2 separate regions of the Homo sapiens genome follow, and region 2 is linked to region 1. The links are contacts of gene promoters, found by promoter capture Hi-C in blood cells and fetal thymus (Javierre and others, 2016). All regions are on one chromosome and are shown on one strand. The core of a region is centred on a gene start or on the middle of the fragment in contact, and the rest is flanking DNA. Distances in the headings are between cores, read along the strand shown. Region 1 holds the start of ZNF157 (zinc finger protein 157). Region 2 holds the start of SLC38A5 (solute carrier family 38 member 5).

Evidence for each region. Contacts are between HindIII fragments. The CHiCAGO score rates a contact against its expected background, and 5 or more counts as called.
Region 2: a contact is called between the fragment with the promoter of SLC38A5 here and the fragment with the promoter of ZNF157 in region 1, in 2 of 17 cell types (neutrophils and monocytes). The highest score is 5.8, in neutrophils.

Annotation. Positions count from the first base shown.
Region 1 is chrX:47,369,038-47,373,116 of GRCh38, reverse strand. ZNF157 (zinc finger protein 157) reads right to left here and starts at 2,539. Exons shown (of 4, transcript NM_003446.4): 1 at 2,377-2,539. The coding sequence starts at 2,448. The HindIII fragment of the contact is 3,930 bases long and covers 1-2,989 here.
Region 2 is chrX:48,469,010-48,472,709 of GRCh38, reverse strand. It overlaps SLC38A5 (solute carrier family 38 member 5), which reads left to right and starts at 2,450. Exons shown (of 17, transcript NM_033518.4): 1 at 2,450-2,528; 2 at 3,274-3,375. The HindIII fragment of the contact is 10,592 bases long and covers 1-3,700 here.

The sequences.
Region 1 (4,079 bases), core at 1,290-3,789:
AGTGATTCTCCTACCTCAGCCTCCCGAGTAGCTGGATTACAGGTGCCCGCCACCACACCCAGCTAAATTTTGTATTTTTAGTAGAGATGAGGTTTTATCATGTTGGTCAGGCTAGTCTTGAACTCCTGACCTCAAGCGATCCTCCCACCTCGGCCTCCCAAAGTGCTGGAATTACAGGCATGAGCCACCGTGCCCCACCTGAGCTTTATTTTTTGTAGTAATGAGGTCTCACTTTGTTGCCCAGGCTGGTCTTGAATTCCTGAACTCAAGCAATTCTCCGGCCTCTCCCACCAATAAAGGATATTTTAAAGAATACAAATTCAGGCCGGGCATGGTGGCTCACACCAGTAATCCCAGCACTTTTGGAGGCCAAGGCAGGTGGATCACCTGAGGTCGGGAGTTTGAGACCAGCCTGACCAACATGGAGAAACCTCATCTCTACTAAAAATACAAAATTAGCTGGGCGTGGTGGCATATGCCTGTGATCCCAGCTACTTGGGAGGCTGAGGCAGGAGAATCACTTGAATCCAGGAGGTGGAGTTTGCAGTGAGCCAAGATCACGCCATTGCACTCCAGCCTGTGCAACAAGAGCGAAACTCCATCTCAAAAAAAAAAAAAAAAAGAATACAAATAAATCACAGCCAAATAAAGAGATACATAGGGCAAGGCATGTGGGAAGGGGCCTGGAGTCTTCATGCGCTCTCTGGGTGCACCACCCTCCAGGAACCCCCATGTGTTCGGCTACCCAGAAGCTCTCCAGACTTTATCCTTTTGGGGCTTTAGGGGGGCTTCATTATGTAGGCATGATTGATTAAATCATTTGCCCTTGTGGATCGACTTGACTCTCAGCACCCTCTCCCCTCCCAGGTGGTTGGAGGGTCCCAACCCTCTAAACCTACCTTAGTCTTTCTGGTGACCAGCCCCATTCGGAAGCTGCCTAGGGACTGCCAGGCATCAGTCAACTCATTAGCATACAAAAAGACACTTTAGTACTTTAGAGATTCCGAGGATATTAGGAGTTGTTTGCCAGGAAAGACCAATTATATATTTCACAGTATCACACCCCTACAAAAACCTTACACAAACTATTATAGGATCTTTATTCATAATATCCAACAACTAGAAACAACCAAGATGTCTTTCAACCAGTGAATGGTTATACTGTTTGGTACATCCATGCGATGGAAAAGTATCAGCAATAAAAGGAATGGGCAGGGCACGGTGGCTTACGCCTGTAATCCCAGCACTTTGGGAGGCTGAGGCAGGTGGATCACGAGGTCAGGAGTTCAAGACCAGCCTGGCCAACATGGTGAAACCCCGTCTCTACTAAAGATACAAAAAATTAGCCAGGTGTGGTGGCACGCACTTGTAATACCAGCTACTCGGGAGGCTGAGGCAGGAGAATAGCTTGAACCCGGGAAGCAGAGGTTGCAGTGAGCCAAGATCACGCCATTGCAGTCCAGCCTGGGTGACAGGGCAAGACTCTGTCTCAAAAAAAATGAATGAACTATTGATATACTGTTAGCTATTGATATCTCCACAGAATTTTGCTGAATGACGAAAGCCAGTCCCAAAAGGTACATACTGTACAATCTGATTAATATAACAGTCTCTCTTTTTTGTCCTTTTTTTCCTTTTTGTGGAGAACAGGGTCTCACTATATTGCCCAGGCAGGTCTCAAACTCCTAGGCTCAAACTATCCTCCTGCTTCTGCCTCCCTAAGAGCTGGGATTACAGGCATGAGCTGCCATGCCCGGCAAATAAAACTTTTTTTTTTTTTTGAGACAGGGTCTCACTCTGTCACCCAGGCAGAGTGCAGTGGCACGATCTTGGCTTACTGCAACCTCCGCCTCCAGGTTCAAGCGATTTTCCGGTCTCAACCTCCCGAGTAGCTGGGAGTACAGGTGCGTGCCACAACACCTGGTTAATTTTTGTATTTTTAGTACAAACAGGGTTTCACTATGTTGGCCAGGCTGGTCTCAAACTCCTGGCCGCAAGTGATCCACCCGCCTCGGCCTCCCAAAGTGCTGGGATTACAGGTGACAGGCGTGAGCCACCACGTCCAGCCACAACATTCTTGAAATGAAAAAATTATAGTATTGGAGAACAGATTGGTGGTGCCCCAGGGTTAAGAGGGGAGTGATGGAGGAAGTGAAGTGGTTGTGTCTATTTAATGACAACATGGGGGATCCTTGTGGGGATGGAAATGCTCTGCATGTCAATATCCTGGGTATTACGAGATGTTACTACTGGGGACAAAAACTAGGTAAATGGTACATTGCATTTGAATCTACAATTATCTCAAAATATAAATTTAACTAAAAATAAATAAAAAAATAAAGAACATATAGAAAAAAATAGGATCCTCCTCCTTACCTCAAAAGATCTGCCAGGTTCTCCTGGAATCAGGGCAGGGAATCTCTGGGGTGATGTCCCATTAGCTGGCATGTTCACCCTGGGCCTCAGCCCACCTTCCGTGCTGGACAGCTGTCTGTGTGTAGAGGGTCCTGCAGCCTCCAGTAAGGGGTAAGGCTCAATGGCTCCACAGAGACACCAAGAAATCCTAAAAGGACAGTATCCATATCATCAGTGTCATCCCACATTCACGCCACAATGTTCAGCATCCCCAGAGCATGAGTCAAGGTGGATTACAAAATGATCAAATTTGGGGCCAAATTAATGAGCTTGGGGTCCCTTCTTGAGTGGCTCTACCAGGTGCTTCACTCGCTACTCAGCCAGCCTACACCTCAGTTCAAGTTCAAGGCAGATCTGGGTTTAGGAGAAGTAGAACTGGGGCAGTGCTTAAGGGTGCTTAAGGCCCATGGGGTGGGCAGGTTCAAGGGGACCTGGTGGGTGACTGTGAGGGCAGGAAACCTGGAAAGCTGATAATCTAAATGAAAGGAAATCGGCTGGTCCTTTCTTCTGCCGTCTTTTGTTTTTTTCCACTCTTAGATGAAATATCCCTCTTAAATTCTTTTACTGGGAAGCTTTTAGCCTCTTCTTTCCAGAAAAAAATGGTTCAATCTTAATAATGTTATGTATTTTTTCTTTTTTTTTTTTTTTTTTTTGAGATGGAGTTTCACTCTTGTCACCCAGGCTGCAGTGGAATGGTGCGATCTCAGCTCACAGCAACCTCCGCCTCCCAGGTTCAAGGGATTCTCCTGCCTCAGCCTCCCTAGTGGCTGGGATTACAGGCGCCCGCCACCACGCCCAGCTAATGTTTGTATTTTTAGTAGAGACGGGTTTTCACTATGTTGGTCAGGCTGGTCTCGAACTCCTGACCTCAAGTGATCCTCCCGCCTTGGCCTCCCAAAGTGCTGGGATTACAGGTGTGAGCCACTGCACCAGGCCTAATGTTATGTATTACATCAACAAATTACAGAGGGAAACACTCTGCTGTTAACTTACACCAAAAAAGCATCCAACGCAATTCAGCAGCCATTACTAATATAAGCTCAAACTAAAATCATGGAAAAAGTAAATAACTTAAGTGCCACAAAAATCAATTATGAAACATAACTCTGAAACACCATGCTAAAAAGTAAAATGATGAAGCTATTGCCACAAAATTAGTACTGTCTGCTATAACCCAAAATTGTTTTGTGGGCTCTAGCTCACACAAGAGAAGATGAAATAGAGTGGGCTGGGCACAGTGGCTCATGCCTGTAATCTCAGAACTTTGGGAGGCCAAGACAGGAGGGTTGCTTGAGTCCAGGAGTTCGAAACCAGCCTTGGCAACAAAGTGAGACGCTGTCTTTACAAGAAATAAAATAATCCGAGTGTGGTGGTCCACACCTGTAGTGCCAGCTACTAAGGAAGCTGAAGCAGAAGGATAGCTTAAGAAGCCTGAGAGGTTGAGGCTGCAGTGACCTCTGATGGCGCCACTGCACTCCAGCCTGGGTGACAGAGCAAGACTTTGTCTCTAAAAGAGAAAGAAAAAGAAAGAGAGAAAGAGAGAAAGAAAGAAAGAAAGAAAGAAAGAAAGAAAGAAAGAAAGAAAGAAAGAAAGAAAGAAAGAGAGGAAGGAAGGATGGAAGGAAGGAAGGAAGGAAGGAGGGAAGAAAGGAGAAAAGAAGAGA
Region 2 (3,700 bases), core at 1,201-3,700, 1.1 Mb before region 1:
GTGGCAGGGAGGCGGCGAATGGATGCAGAGGGGAGGGGGGTTGTCTTTTTTTTTTTTTTTTAAATCCAAATAAAGTATGCTAGTTATTTGGACGGGACACTTCAGACTTGAAATATGGATACCTGCATCCCCCCCACCCCCCGACCTTTAGCCATCTGGGTCAAAGCCTCTAGTGACAGGTGTCTCTTTCCCTGGCCAGCTGGTAGCACAGATGTGTAATGGCTCTGGGTGGGGGAGGGGTATGAGGGGAGAGAGAAATCAGAGTAGATAGGAAAGGAGACAGAGGCTGGAGGAGGTTGGGCAGGAGTGTGTGCGCACGTGTGTGTGAATATGCTGAGTGTATCTCACCTGCCCGTTCTCAGCCACAGCCACACGTATGTGAGCTGTGCCTGCGTCTTCCTATGTAACTTGCCTGGTGCTGCGTTCTGTCTATGGCCGCCTGCCAAACTTGTGCTTTTTTTTTTTTTTTTTTTTGAGATGGAGTCTCACTCTGTCGCTTGGGCCGGAGTGCAGTGGCGCGATCTTGGCTCACTGCAACCTCCGCCTTCCAGGTTCAAGCAATTCTCTTGCCTCAGCCTCCCGAGTAGCTGGGATTACAGGAACCCGCCACCACGCCCAGCTAATTTTTTTTGTATTTTTAGTAGAGACGGGGTTTCGCCACGTTGGCCAGGCTGGTCTCGAACTACTGACCTCATGATTCACTCACCTTGGCCTCCCAAAGTGCTGGGATTACAGGCATGAACCACTGCACCCGGCCCAACTCATACCTTTTTTTTTTTTTTTTTTTTGGCAACCGTGTGCATTGGTACTGTCTGTCGGTGCAGTTCATCTATATGTTGTTGTGTGTGTGTGTTGCTTGGGTGTTTGTCTCCTTTGTAATGGTCGTGGGTGACAAGTGTGTCAGAGTACTTGTCCCTCCTATATGTGTATCTATGCGCACGTATCTTTCTTTGTGTGTCTGCTGCTGTATTTGTGTCTCTTCTTAGCGAGTGGCTGCAGGTATGTGTGCCCTCGGGGTGTTTCTTCTGGTGCCATGGTATGAGTACTATCTGGTTCTCTTGTTTTTTCCTTGTGTAGCTTTCAGTGTGGTTTCTGGATTTTTTCTTTGCAACGATAGTAAGCGTACTCTGCATTCCTGTGCTTTGTGTTTGTGTGCAGGTATATGCTTTCCCTATATGTTTCTTTTCTGACTTGATTTGTGACTAGCTGTGTGTGTACACGGCTGTGTGCAGCCATTTGCTGAAATGCAGTTGTGTGTGTGTGTGTGTGTGAGAGAGAGAGAGAGAGGAGAGAGAGAGAGAAGGAGACTATGGCTTTTCTGTTTGTACAAAAATCATGTCAGCCTATGAGTGCCTCTCTCTGTGACTGGAGCTGTATGTGGTTACATGTGGTCACAAGTGCACATTCAAGTTCACATACACAGAGATATCATTTTAGGGCTTGAACCTGGAAGTTTGCCTCCAGGGTCATCTGAACCTGGATTCAGGTTCAGATCCAGGGCCATCTGAACCTGGATCGTGTGTGTGGGAAAGACCCAGGACCCACACACAATGTCATCAGCTGTGTGTAATTGTGTGCTCTGTGTGTGGCTGTGAATCTGTGTGTGTGATTTGCCTGTTGATTGTCTTTGGCATGGCTGTGGGTCCACGGGCGGTGAGGTTCAGGAGTCTCGAGTGTCTGGAAATCGGCACAAGCCTATCCCTGTGTTAGTCTGTGCTCTCTGTGAGCGGCTCTGAGCCTGTCGGTATTGATAGCTGTAAGACTATCGTCACTCTGTGTGGCCACGTGTGTGACTGTCCCATGAGCCATTGCTCTTAACGTGCAGTGGTGAGTCTGTGTGTGTTCATGTCTGTCAGTCTTTATTCTCTTGTGTGGCTGTGAGTCTTTGTGCACCTCTGTGAGTGATGGCGAGTTGGCCCCCGTATCTGAGCCCCTTGATGGGGCTGTGATGGGTCCTGTTGTGTAGCTGCGATTCCTGAGTGTGCAGGAGTCTCTCTCCCGCTGTGGGGAAGTAAACGCCCCATCCCTTGTCCTCCTCCAACTGTGGGTGGGGTGAGGGCATCTAGGCCAGCTTTGAAGCCCCAGCCAGCTCCTGGCCTTTCCGGGAATTCTGTGTTCCCTGTCGGGGGTGGGCAGGCGGGCGAGGGGCCCAGACAGAGGCCTCTTGTCCACCTGGGCTTCAAGCAGCCCAGTCGAGGTGGTCCCAGACCCCAAGTCCACCCTGCCTGACATCCTGTAGCGGACACGTGGCTTGCCTGGGACAGGCATGCCTGTCATATGCCTGGAGGGGAGTGAACAGACGGACTCCCATAGAAGACAGACGGACAGACAGATAGTGGGACTTCTCAGGGCTTGGACAAGCCCCACCCCACGCTTGGGGTGGGGTCCAGGACTACAGTGCCCGCCCAGTTTGCGGACAGTGTGAGTTCACAGTCCACATTCCCCACCCAGCCACAAATGCCCTCCCTGCCTCCCTCTGGGGGCCCCCAAGATCTAGGGTCCTCTCGTGCCTAGGCTGTCTGCCTGAGGTCTGCCTGGAATAGCCTGGCTACTACCCCTGCACCTGTTCCCCTGCTGTCCCCAGGCCTCTCTGCCTGAATCTGCCTCTCTCTGCCTCTTTTCTCCTGTCCCTCCAGGAGTCTCTCTGCCTCAACCACTCTCTCTGCCCCTTCATCTCTCTGAGCTGGTGTGTCTGGTCCTACCCTCTGTTTGGGGAGCTGTCTGGCTCTGTCCCCCACCTCTTGGCCAGCCTGTGTCTCCTGTCTATGACTGAGCCCAATTGCCTGTTGCCTTTCTGCAGGTGTTTCCACGAGCCTATCCCTACCCACCTGTTTGTTTCTGAGTCTGCCTGTGTGTCCCTTTCTCCCTGTCTCTGCCTGTCTTCCAAGCTCCCCTAGCATCCCCTCCTCCCGCCCATCTGTCTTTCTGTCCCTTCTGTGGTCTGTCTGTTCCTGTGCTGTTTCTCATGCCTGCTTTCTTTGTAACTTCAGTTCTCCTACTCTCTCTCTGTCTCCTCTCTGCACCTTTTTCTGCCATCCATCCCATCCTGCTGTCCGTCTGCTCTGTGAGTCCATCCCCTCTGTCTGCCTGTCACTCTCTCTAGCTGTGGGTCTACACCCTCAATCTTTCAGGCCATTTCCCCCACCATCAACACACAAACAAACCGCTGTCTCCCTCCAAGTGGGTCCAGATAGGGGGCGCCCCTTCTCCACCTCTTCCCCCGCCCAGGGCCAGAAGGAGGGAAACGAAATTAAAATTAACATTTCTTCTCAGGAAAAAAAAAAAAGTACCGCTCCAGAGCAGGAGCCTAGGCAGCCGAGAGGGTGCCCGAACCTGAGTCTGAGTTGCGGCCACTTCAGGAGCTGAGAGGAGCAGGTAGGTGAGGAGGGAGCGTGGGCTGCGGGGATGGTGTTCCTGGGGGCCTGAGATATGAGTAGGGGTCCTGGGAGGGGGCTCGGGGTTCCTTGGAGACATTTTAGCACTAGTGGGGAATGGAATGGCGTGTATGGGGAGGTCCTTTTTGTACCCTGATCCCAGGAAGTGAATTCAGGTGTGGGTGGGAGGCTCCGGAGGGTGCTGGTGGTGGGGGATGGGACTCCTTGAGACCCTCCCTGTCCCAGGAACGGGATTCAGGACTTGGGAAAAGGATTTCCTGAGCCAGTTTGAGCTCTAATGGGGACCTTGAATGGGGGTTTCTGAG